Regions from separate parts of the Homo sapiens genome. Here regions 1, 2 and 4 are each linked to region 3. The links are contacts of gene promoters, found by promoter capture Hi-C in blood cells and fetal thymus (Javierre and others, 2016). All regions are on one chromosome and are shown on one strand. The core of a region is centred on a gene start or on the middle of the fragment in contact, and the rest is flanking DNA. Distances in the headings are between cores, read along the strand shown. Region 1 overlaps LIPC (lipase C, hepatic type). Region 2 overlaps LIPC (lipase C, hepatic type). Region 3 holds the start of ADAM10 (ADAM metallopeptidase domain 10). Region 4 overlaps LIPC (lipase C, hepatic type).

Region 1 (3,003 bases), core at 68-2,567, 310 kb before region 3:
GTTCCTCAGAAAAGAGGATCCAAGTCAGGAGGCCTCTTGTTCTCTTGGAAGCAGAATCTCTTGGCAGAATTCTTTCTGCAATGAGTGAGCCCAATCTGTGTGCATGTGGCTGGTATGATGTCTTTCTGGGGAAACCGCAGGGAAGCCGGTGTCCTGTGGTGGAGCCCTTGTCAGGAAAGTTTCTACACCAATGGTTCTCAACAGGGGCAATTTTGCCCTCCAGGGGACACTTGGCAATGTCTGGAGACATTTTTGGTTTTTGGTTGTTAAGACCAGGGAGAGAGTGCTTCCCTTCCAGCATCTAGTGGGTAGAGGCCAGGGAAGCTGCTTCACATCCTACAATGCACAGGACAGCCCTCACAACAATGAATTGTCTGGCCCAAAACATTATTAGTGCAGAGGCTGAGAAACCATGATCTATGCCAAGCTTCAACTGTCACTCATCGAGCACCAGGAAGTACTCCCTCAAGGACCCTTCCTCTTTAGCCCCTCCTCCCAGCCTACTTCTTTTGAGTATTTATTATTAATGACATCTTACTAATGGAGTCACTAATGTGCTGCACACCCAGCATGTGCCAGGCACTCCACGGACATTTTATCTCATCCTCACCATATGGTTGAGTAAGCTGGCAGTTAAGTGCCTTGCCGGCGGTCGCATAGCTGGTCAGGGCAGAGCAGGGAGAGGTACCTGCAGCCTCAATCTGTCTACTGAGGCCGCAGTGCTCTGTGTCGAGCCCACACCCAGTGATTTGACAGCCAGAGGTTTCTAGAAAAACATTCTGCTCAGTTCCTCTCACAGAGAGGGAGATTTAGACAGTTGTTCCTGCCCTTCAGCACTAAGGGGGACTGGATAGCGTGAGCTGCTTGAAGCCCACATGGCACATCACACTTATGCCCAGCCCCAATGCCTGAGACCCAGGTTCCCCAGTCGGTGTTGCCATGAGAGCCAACGCTGCTCCTAGACCCTGGCAAGTCCCACCTTCCCGGTACTGGGCCCACTATCAACAGGCACCTTCTCCCTCCCCTCCACCCCAGCCTCAGCTTGCAAATCCTAGGAGCAGCTGAAAGCTACCTATTCAGTCAGTCCCTCATGAGTGTCACAAGCATACATGAGCACCTGCCATACGTAACGCAGTGCCTGAGTACAACTCACACACTCTGTTCACACGTTTCCTCTCTTAAAAATCACTGAGGACCCCAAACAGTGTTTATTATGTGAGATATCAATATTTCCTTCATTAGAAATTAAAACTGAGAAATCTTTAAAATCTGCTAACACTTTTTAAAATGATAATAAACCCTTGCATATTAACACATATAATGTAATTTTATGAAAAATAACTTGTATTTTCCAAATAAGTTTTAAATGGAGAAGAGTGACATTGTTTTACAAAGAAATGTTGCAAATCTCTCTAATATCTGGCTTCCCAAGACAGCTGGATTATCTTACCTGTTTCTGTACTCAGTCTGTTGTGATGTATTGCTTTGTTTGAAATGTAGGAAGAAAATCTGGCCTCCCATAGAGGAAAAGGGAGGACATCCTAAGGCGATCTCCCTGGGGCCTTGGCCTGCAAACCACTGCGCTTGTGCAGTGGGCACTGTACAACAGGGGGCTGCACAGCCGTCCCCACCTTGCAGGAATTTACAGTCAAATGGGGTGGGAGTGGGGTGGGGAGGGAATAGGGGGCCATGGGACTGGGTGGAGGGGGGATGTGCCATCAATAAAAGAGCAACCGTCTGTGGAGAATTTAAATACAAATATAACCAAAAGCTGATCTGCCTGTCATTATCACAATTATAAAGAATGTCAGCCGGGCGCCGTGGCTCACGCCTGTAATCCCAGCACTTTGGGAGGCCGAGGTGGGTGGATCACCTGAGGTTAGGAGTTCAAAACCAGCCTGGCCAACATGGTAAAATGCCATCTCTACTAAAAATACAAAACATTAGCCAGGCTTGGTCATGGGCACCTGTAATCCCAGCTACTTGGTACGCTGAGGCAGGAGAATTGCTTGAACCCGGGAGGCAGAGGTTGCAATGAGCCGAGATGGCGCCGTCGCACTCCATCCTGGGCAACAAAGTGAAACTCCATCCCAAAAGAAAGAGTATCAGCGATAAAGGCAAAGCTCTTTCCAGAAAAAAATGGTTTTATGGCCTAAGTTCTAAACAATCTCCGTGGTTACTGTTGGATTTTATGTAGTAAGTATATGTAAGCTTCAAATTCATCACATCTTTATTATTTATCCTTTCATAAATATTGTGTTCTACATTGACATTAATCTGGAGAACTCCCGGTTATGCACTTGGCCCCAACATGCACAGACTCAGGGGCGTGTTCTTGTTGCAAGAGTAAGTGTGCGATGGTTCAGATCCTTTGACGTCCTTATGTCTCCAACCTCAGTGGCACTTATTACCTGCTTCTGCATGTAAACAGTAGATTTGAAACAAAAAATGATAGCGTAGTGGTTGTACAAACAAAAAACCAGAACTTGAATTATTTCAATTCTCTCATCCTAGGTGACCCCTGTAAGCTTCTCATATGTGTTTAAAATTTAAAGCAACAAAACAGATTGTGAACAATGAGTTGTAACATCTTGTTTGATAGGTAAAAATTTGGACTCATACGAAAAATATTTTTACTGCATTTGAATATCTTAAAGTTAAAATGTATTTGTCTTTTTAAAAATTGTTCACTGCTTTATAACTAAAGAAGAAATCGAGAAAGTAGTGATGATTGCTGATTTTTACATAAATATGACTGAAAATACTTTTGTCTTATAGAGCAGAGGGTCATTAAAATGATCCGTTCTGTGTGTCAAATACATGAGGTATACCACTGAGTCACATATGTAAATGTTATCAGCTAGAACAGAACATGGCATGAGATGAGGACCATGAGAGAGGAATGAGTAGAGAAGCAGATTTTACTTCCAAGTGGAGGGAAGAAGGCTTCTTGGAGGAGGCGGCATTTGAGTAGGGTGTTGAAGGATGGTATCCGGACAGAAG
Region 2 (2,779 bases), core at 190-2,689, 260 kb before region 3:
GTTAGTCCAGCCAGGCAGTGCCATAGAGTGGTCAGAGCATGGGAATTTCAAGCAGACAGCAGCAGGCTTTAATCCTCACTCTACTCTCCCCAGATGTGTCACCAAGGCAAGTCACTCAGCTTCTCTGAGGCTCAGTTTCCTGGCCTGTAGAGTGGGAATAATTATAATACTATCTTGGTTGTCAGGTTTAAAAGACCAAATGAATGTCACTGCCTGGCAGACTACTTAAAACAATAAGAGGTGCTAAAGTTACTTTAAACCAACCCTCTCCACCCTCTCCTTCCCCACCTCAGTTTCATACCCCAGAGACCAAATTCCTGATGGATTCCTAAATGATATCTCTGCCAAATACTGGTGCCAGGTGCTGGGCAAGGCACAGTTTTGCAACCAGCTGTCAGGCAGCAACAACTTCACAGTCGTACTTTTATTCAGTGTGTGGTAAAACTTCTGGGACAAGAGTCAAAGTCGTAGGGCTTTAGTGGGAAACTGCCATTGCCTGACCAGAGGTACAAAGCACTGGCCCTTCCCTCATCCCTGGCCTGACCTAAGAGGGCTGGGGTACCACAGGACTGTTGACCCCACTGAGAGCTCAGGGTGCCAGAAACACTGCCTGCCACGTGATTCCTATTGGTCCTTCCAGAGATGCTAACAGGCCTGGAGGCTGGAGGTCTCTCTGCCCACACTTTCACACATGACCTGGAGCAGGGGGTCCCAGCTCTGTAGCTGCATTTCTGACCCAGTTGGATACCTTGACATGGTCCCAGCAAGCAACAGAGCACCCATTGTACAGCCTTCCCCAGCCCCAGAGAGGGACTGTCCCTGCCAAGAACAGAGGTGCCACCCAGAATCTGACAGCAGGGGAGGCTCCCCAAGCATTCTACCCAGAAGAACAAGCACCCTCCCCAGATGGCCTGTGGCCCACCCTGCCCTCAGTTCCTAGCAGATCCTCAACTTGGCCTGCTTTGATGTTTGTGAATGGCAGGTAGGAAAGGTCAGGCAAGTGGAAGAAACCTAAAACCATGCTCTCTATGGCCATGGAAGCTTCCTAGGTATTATTACATAGCTGTAGTATATTAATATTACTGTCATTAATTGATATTATTGTAATGTTACTATAATATACATAGCCATAATATAAACACATTATAAAGCTGTAATAGCTTATCTTTATTCTACTATGTGGCAAGTCTGTACTAAGCATTCTCCTACTCTAAACCCCCACAAAAGTATTAGCTATGAACTATCATTGAATTTCGTTTTACAAACAAGGACAATCCAAAGAGGCCAAGTTACCTGCCCAAGGCCACACAGTCCACAAGAGCCCAAGTTCCCACTCAGGCCCATTCTTTTAGCTCTGTGCCACCCAGCTCTGCAAATGTAGCCACCCAAAGCCAATCAAGCCAGTGGTAGAGTTCTAAAACCAAATCTAGGGCTCTGTCCCACCAATCTCCACCTGGTGCCTGGAATTCCTCTATTTTTGTTTTTTGTTCTGTTTTGTTTTAAAGTTTCACTCACCCCCCTCCTTAAACCCAAATATCCCTGGGACAGGATGGAAATCCATAAACAGGTGCCTGAGTAAGACATCATTCACAGAGCCTTTTCCTCCTGACAGCTGGCCAAGAACAGGAGAGGGGGCCCTGGGCAAATCTGCAGGATTACATCAGAGCTTATTTTCCCCCGTATGCCCCTAATTTTCTACATGCTCTTCCATTCCTGATGGATTCCTAAATGATATCTCTGCTAAATCCTGGCGCCAGGTGCTCTTCCATTCTCCCAGTGATCCAGAACTTTCTTGCTGTCATGAAGAAAACTGATTTAATAAGTAAACTCATACTTAGGAAGCTTCCCATCCACCCTGGCCCCCCATGGTATCTCACATCATCATCAGACCAAAAGAACCCATACCCTCATCAGTGATGACTCAGCAAAATCAACTTCACATGATTAGGAAGCTCACATAACTAGCAAGGCGAGGAGGTTCTCTCTGCCGGCCACCTCCTCCCGCCAGCACTCCACCACAGCCTGCCTACTGTCTGCCCGTTTGGACTAGCAGCTGGTGCTGTGGGATCTTTAACTCCACTGAAATTATGTCACAAAACTGGGGCATCGTAGGGAACCTAGGAAAACAGACAAGAAATAAAGACTCCATATGTGCCTGGCCCACACCCGAGTTTGGCTCACTATGCACACATTAGATCCTGCCATTCACAATTTAAAATATATATATATTTTTTTGTGTATATATACATATATACACACCTAGAAAAAAAGTATGTATTTTGTATATATACAAAATTTATTACATATAAATAAAATTTATACAAAATTTATTACGTATAAATAAAATTTATACAAAATTTATTACGTATAAATAAAATTTATACAAAATTTATTACGTATAAATAAAATTTATACAAAATTTATTACGTATAAATAAAATTTATACAAAATTTTGTATATATTTGTATATGTGAAATATTTTTTAAATGTTAATATATCTATAATATTTATATATTTGAATATATAAGTTTATATATATTTATATGGCTCACTATAAAAGAAATTGAAACCTCCTTAAGCATGAACAACTCCCACGGGTGTTTTCTTCATGAGACGCACAGGAAGATGGCAATGGGTACTGAAAGGAATGAATTGCTTGTGGGGGAACTTTATTTACTAGAACAACCCCAGGTAGGAGGAGAGGTTTTAAGAAATGAGAGTAGGGGTTCTGGAGGAGGTCACCTTGCCTCCTAGTACAGAGGTAAGACTCCACTGAGGC
Region 3 (3,036 bases), core at 453-2,952:
ACAGAAATAACAAATGTCAGATGAAAAAGGCTCCTCTAACAGAGAGTCTCCCGCACATAATCCTTTTTAAAACTAAACATCTATTATCAGCTCTTAATCTATAATGTGTGTCTTGCTTGATGAATTGGATTGAAAAAAATTAAATAAAACGTGTAACAAAAAAATGAACACTACAAACTATAACAGAAGTCTGCCTACGCAGTACCACCCTCGGACTCGGTAGAATACAGGACAGAAATACACTTGGTCCTGCAGTCATAAGTCAAAGTGGCAAAGAAAAAAACAGAAACAATACATTACATGAAATAGATATTTTCTAAATTATCAAAGGCTACAGACACTCATCCAAAGCATTCCTCAAATTTTTTCAATCGTTGCTTTTAGGCACACCTTGAGGTTTTTAAGTTTACTCTGGGGCAAGTCAAAAAGCTTACCTAAAATAAAGCACTTTAAGCAAGAATAAAATGATGCAGCTGGTCCTAGAACACACCGGAAATAAAAATCGTTGTCTTCAAAACCCGAAACAAGAAATGACATGCTTTTAGCAAATTTGACTTTCATGTGCAGGGGGGAGGGGGCACTGTTTTGACAATCCACTAACTACACTGTACATCTACTCCACCTGAAAGTTTAACGAAACTCTTCAAGTTGGGTCACCCAGGGACCGAACTTCTACTCTAAGAGACCCAATCCAGCCTACAAATCAAAGAACATCCCCAAATGGTTTACCCTTCTCCCGACCAAACCCTTTCCCCTGGGCGACAGAATGTTTTCAAGAACACCAACACACCCTCCTGTGATCTCTCTCCAAACACAGGACACAGGAAGAACCGAGGCCACTAGTCTCAGATAAGCGGGTGATGACTGCTGCCACTCCACGGGCGGCCCCTCTGCAGAATGGGGTCGGTCAGGACCGGCGCGCCGGGTAAAGAACAATACACGAGCCCAGCTGCAAACAACACAACTTCCCACGAGTCTGCGCGGCGGGTCTCGGCGGCGGAGAGGACTTCGGAATCCGCCACCGGGCAGGGGCTGGGGGAGGAATGGTGAGCAGGATGAGCGCTGAACGAGGACGGCGAGACCGCCAGCCTCGCTGCGGCTGCCTGCACCGGCGCCCGCCGAGCAGACTGGAGGGATGCAGCCACCAGCCTGGGTTCCACCGCTCTCACCAGGCGACGCGGATGCCCCGACTTCGCTTCTCTGGGAGGCGACCCCCGCCTCCCGGGGCCGCCAGGGCGGTGGGGGGCGGGGAAGGCCTCGCCGGAGGCTTGGGAGCCTCCTCGGCCCGCCACCGAAGGGAAAGCGGTCGGGGCGCGGGGGACAATAGGGAGCGGGGAGCGCGGCCCGCCAGAGTGGCGCCGCTGGCCGGCTGGGCTGACTGACGCGCACGCCGCGAGGCGCGACTGGGCTCCGCTCGGCCCGGCCGCCGCTCCGCCGTGGTCGCGGCGCCCCCGGCGCTCGCAGTCGTGCCTCACCTCCCATCCCCGCCGCCCAGGAGAGGAGCAGAATTAACACTCTCAGCAACACCATCTTCCGCTGCCGCTGCCGCCGCCGCCGCCTCCTCACGGGTTAACAGCAGCACATCGATCCGGAGGGAGAAGCTGAAGGGGCTTGGTCCGGAGCCTCCACGGGAAGCCGGGACCTCCCCTGGCAGGAGAAACGGCGAAGCACCTCCCTCTCGCTCCACTTCAGGGGCCGGCAACGCTCCTAGCTCCTCCAAAACAGGGACCTCCCTCCCCCTCGTTCGTTTCCTTCCTCCTTTCCCCGCTTTCCTTCCCTTGCTCGTTCCCTCTTCTCTCCCCCCCTCCTTCGAAACTCAGACCTCCGCCTCCTTCCTCACCACGTGACGCGCGGGCACCCAACTGGCACGCGGAGCCGCGCCCCTACCTCCCGCCCCTACCCGTCCCCCAGGCGCTTCAGGGGCGCGCGCATGCGCGCGGGGGACGGTTCCCGTGCTGCTAGGCCTGCCGCCGCTTCCTGTCCGCCGGCGGAGAGCTGGGATTGGGCTTGGGAGGCGGGGTTTGTCCTGGTCCCGCCCCGGGGCGGGAGCGCTCCTACGCGGAGATAGTGCTCCGCTACGTGTTAGAGCTGCTGAGGACCTTCCCTTGGGCTAAAATGGTCCGTGGAAGATGTAAGCAGGGCTGCTTTCGACTTCTTAACGTCACAAGTAACAGAGGTTTTTTTTCTTCTTTTTCTGCCTCTCTTGGTGCACCACAGCTACCAAGTAAACAAAAAGTCCCAACAAGCAGTAATTATAGCGGCAGCTGCCCCAGTGATGCGAACATAAATGCAAAGACCTTCAAGCAGCAGGAAAAAAAGACACCATGTCCGAGATGTAATTTTCCGAGCTCTTTACAAATTTATGTCACAGACTAAGGCTTTAGCCTTTGCAAAAGCATGCAACCTGAACCAGACTGTCTTGAATCTCCAGTCCAGAAAATGTCCTCTTTTCTCTCTGTCACATCTTTGAAGCGAATCCACGCACATCTTCTCCCCAACTTCTTAAAGCTTGTGTTTGTTTTCTCGTAACTCATTTTGATTCTTTAAACTTGGATGTCATGAACTAGAACTTTTTATGGCCATTTAATTAGATATTCTTCATCTATTTGGTATCGTGCTTGAGTAGGCCGAATTAGGGAGAGTGTGTGTGTGCGTGTGTGTGTGTGTGTATGTGTAAATTGTTTTGTTTTGCTTTCTAAAGACAAGGTCTCCGCTGTCTCGCCAGGCTGAAGTGCAGTGGTGTGATCATAGCTCACTGTAACCTCCAACTCAAGCCGAATTAGGGAGAGTGTGTGTGTGTGTGTGTGTGTGTAAATTGTTTTGTTTTGCTTTCTAAAGACAAGGTATCCGCTGTCTCGCCAGGCTGAAGTGCAGTGGTGTGATCATAGCTCACTGTAACCTCCAACTCAAGCGATCCTCCCGCCTCGGCCTCCCACAAGTGCTGGGATTACAGGCGTGAGCCACTGCGCTCGGCCTTAATGTTATTGATACTGTAATAAACTGGAATTCCTATACTGTTACCTGTATATTTTATAC
Region 4 (3,047 bases), core at 93-2,592, 300 kb before region 3:
GTTATTTTACTTTATTCTAAAGCCTCAATCTCACATCTGATTTGACATTCTTCCCTTCTCTCATGAGCTAGACTCAAAGAAGATGGAATCTGCAGTGGGGAGGGGATAGGATAGTTCTGCTCTTTCACTCCTCTTTTCTCTGGAGCACCGTGGGGTAGGGTGGAGTGGGATGGGGTGGGAGGGCAGGGTGAGGCCTGGTCCTGGGATTGCTGCCCCTCATTTTTCAGAGCCCAACCCCCATGGGACTGGGAGCTGGTAGTGAGGGTACAGCTGGGGGACACAGAGGTCCTCATCTCTTGTGAGTGGTCTGCTCTTGCTCTGGTTCACTGTGGTCCCATCTGCTGCTGGTGGCCTTGGCCTGTGAAGATGTGGATGTGGTTTTCTGAGGGCCCTATCGGTGTGAGCCCAGCCCATTTGTCACTAAGGACAGCTGTGGCCCCTTTTGGCTTCTCCAAAGGTCCATGCCCCTCCTACTCTGTCCTCCTGTACAAAGTCTCAGAAATGACTTCGGTCTTCTTCCCCGCCTCTGAGGATTGATGGGAGCTGAGGTGTGGGGACCCATCCCCTCAGGTACACTGCCTCATAGTATTTCTTCTCCCCGCTTGGCTGAGCCTCCTCTCTTCAGATGGCTAAAACAGGCACAACCCCCACGTTGCCACACAGTCCCATAAACTCCTATGGATACAGGTCAGTCTCTCTCCAAAACTCCATCCTCATATCCCCAGCACCACATGGGACCTAGAATAGCAACGTCTCAGCCAGCATACAGCCTGGAACAATATGACCATTTCTGCCTCCTGCAGGCACCCTCATTCCGCATTCTCGGTAAGTGATTCTAATCGGTCCCCCAACTTGAACTCTAGAGACTAACAATGGGAAGAAGAGAACTAAATTATTCTCCCAGCAATTCCTACTCTCCCTCTCCCACTTGTCTGTCTAACATGGGCTGGGGGAAGGTGGTGATGGGAATAGAGACTGCTTCTTTGAGAGCCCTGGAGTTTGAAGAATTTGGCCCCAGTTGCTGGCAACTCTCATTACAGAGTGTGGGTTCCGTACATTGGCGCGGTGGCTTATGCCTGTAATCCCAGCACTTTGGGAGGCCGAGGCAGGTGGATTGCTTGACCCCATGAGGTCAAGACCAGCCTGGGCAATATGGTGAAATCCCAACTACTAAAAGTAAAAAAAAATCAGCCAGGCCTGGTATAGTCCTAGCTACTAGGGAGGCTGAGGTGGGAGAATTGCTTGAGCCACAGAGAGCGAGGCTGCAGTGAGCCATGATCATGCACAGCAAGACCCTGTCTCAAAAAAAAAAAAGAAAAGAAAAGAAAAAGAAAAAAAATGGATAGAATGTGGGTTCCTTAGCACCTGTTGTTTCAGCAGATGTCCTGGTGCCACATTTGCTATTTGCAATGCGTCTTCACATACATTATCTCAGTTGACCCCACAGTGATTCTGTGAGGTGTTTAACCTATAAGGAAACAGGCTCAGAGAGATTAAGTGACAAGCCCAAGGTCACACATGCAGAGGTGATGGCAAGATGGGAACCCAGCCCAGTGACTCCTGAGCACCTGTTCTCTCCCTGCTGTTTCATGCAGGTGCCTCAGCCACACTTGTCTTCCAGCTCTGGGTGAACTTGGAGCAAATAACCAGAGAAATAGCTTGTCTCCAAGGCCACAGAGCAGCTGGCAGGGGAGAGTTTGGGGCAAGGGATTTCCTTAGGGAAAACACCAATTCGTTCTGGTCATGCCCAGTCACATGGGTCCCAACCATCACCTTCCCAGGCCAAGGTCTTAGGTTCCCCTGGAACCCCTTTGGCTTTACTCCCTTCCTGGGCTGGGGGAAAGGGTGGGGATATAAGCTGGTACTTCCAAAGCAGAAAGCTGGGGTTTGGGGCTGACAGAGCTGACCTTGAGCTTGAGCTCCATGGAGTACCCAGCCCAGGTCAAATGGGGTCAGGAAGCCATCTGTGCCTTCTGGATGGCTCTGTCTGAATGATTCACTTCTGCCTATGGTGGGTGGAAGTTCATGGTTTTACTCCCACATGGTGACCACAGTGCATGGCAATTTTCTAGTCAACAGGTGGGGTTGGGGCCTCTGCTACACACAAGAGGCTTCTTTCTTCAAGTTTAAGACTTCTGATGCTCACAAGACCCTCCCATGCCCTTACCACGTGCAGCGCTCACCCCCAGGGCCTGGGGTTTGGTGAGATGTGTCGCCCACATGGGCTGGGATCATATTTTCCCCAGGGAAGATGAAAGCCCTCACCCTCTCACAAAGCCAATTGCTAAATTTTCAAGAATTTTGCAAGCTGATTTTTAAACATAGCCATTATTTTAAAATTACATTATAGAACTTACAATGAAACAAATGTTTAAAATGACAGTAATAAATACTCAAAACTCCTCTGTTCTCATTTTACTATTGTCTCTGTCTGTAAGGTTATTTCCGTCTGTCGTACTGTGTGGTGGAAATACTATTCAATGATACACCAAAGTGAATCTCTTCCCAACTCCGTTATCAGTAACATCACAGTGGGAGCTTAACAGCAGCCATGATGGCTGTATTTATACATGGACATTGGCAAACATTATAGATTAGGGTTTGATGTATTGTTTTGTTGACTGTGTAAAGCAAGGTTCAGCAAACTTTTCTCTGTAAAGGGCCAGACAGTAAATATTTTTCCTTTTGTAGGCCATAGGTGTCTGTTAAAACTACTCAACTCTGCTATTGCAGCACAAAAGCAGCCACAGACAATAGACACACAAATGGACCTGGCTGTGTTCCAATAAACCTAATTCACAAAAACACATGGTGCACCAGATTTGTCAGGCCATGGATTGCTAGCCCCTCATCTAGACTTAAGAGAGCCATAGAAAAAAAATGTTAGTAATGAAGATTAAATTTAGAACTGTCCCAATTGTAACTAGCACAAAACATTAAGGAAATATTCTTCCAGTGCTCAAAAACAATGATTTGATTGAGCAAAGAATTCATGTCATTGTTGAATGATTGAGTTTCAATGTGTCCTTATTTCATTTTTGTCTTCT

What was found. Contacts are between HindIII fragments. The CHiCAGO score rates a contact against its expected background, and 5 or more counts as called.
Region 1: a contact is called between a fragment that was not itself captured here and the fragment with the promoter of ADAM10 in region 3, in 11 of 17 cell types (megakaryocytes, erythroblasts, M2 macrophages and 8 more). The highest score is 11.2, in megakaryocytes.
Region 2: a fragment that was not itself captured here is called in contact with the fragment with the promoter of ADAM10 in region 3 in 8 of 17 cell types (megakaryocytes, fetal thymus, activated CD4 T cells and 5 more); the score reaches 8.4 in megakaryocytes.
Region 4: a contact is called between a fragment that was not itself captured here and the fragment with the promoter of ADAM10 in region 3, in 12 of 17 cell types (M2 macrophages, fetal thymus, megakaryocytes and 9 more). The highest score is 10.3, in M2 macrophages.

Annotation. Positions count from the first base shown.
Region 1 is chr15:58,433,819-58,436,821 of GRCh38, forward strand. The region is part of intron 1 of LIPC (lipase C, hepatic type); the gene reads left to right. It overlaps LIPC-AS1 (LIPC antisense RNA 1), which reads right to left. Exons shown (of 3, transcript NR_120338.1): 3 at 1,083-3,003. Among named protein-coding and RNA genes, the nearest start is that of LIPC, 3.3 kb to the left of the region's middle. The HindIII fragment of the contact is 1,784 bases long and covers 426-2,209 here.
Region 2 is chr15:58,491,254-58,494,032 of GRCh38, forward strand. All of the region lies in intron 1 of LIPC (lipase C, hepatic type), which reads left to right. The region is part of intron 2 of LIPC-AS1 (LIPC antisense RNA 1); the gene reads right to left. Among named protein-coding and RNA genes, the nearest start is that of LIPC-AS1, 6.1 kb to the right of the region's middle. The HindIII fragment of the contact is 801 bases long and covers 1,040-1,840 here.
Region 3 is chr15:58,748,005-58,751,040 of GRCh38, forward strand. ADAM10 (ADAM metallopeptidase domain 10) reads right to left here and starts at 1,703. Exons shown (of 16, transcript NM_001110.4): 1 at 1,476-1,703. The coding sequence starts at 1,530. RefSeq lists enhancers at 836-1,471, 923-1,052, 2,143-2,322 and silencers at 1,163-1,452, 1,783-2,072. The HindIII fragment of the contact is 2,079 bases long and covers 428-2,506 here.
Region 4 is chr15:58,452,565-58,455,611 of GRCh38, forward strand. All of the region lies in intron 1 of LIPC (lipase C, hepatic type), which reads left to right. The region is part of intron 2 of LIPC-AS1 (LIPC antisense RNA 1); the gene reads right to left. Among named protein-coding and RNA genes, the nearest start is that of LIPC, 22 kb to the left of the region's middle. The HindIII fragment of the contact is 5,070 bases long and covers 1-3,047 here.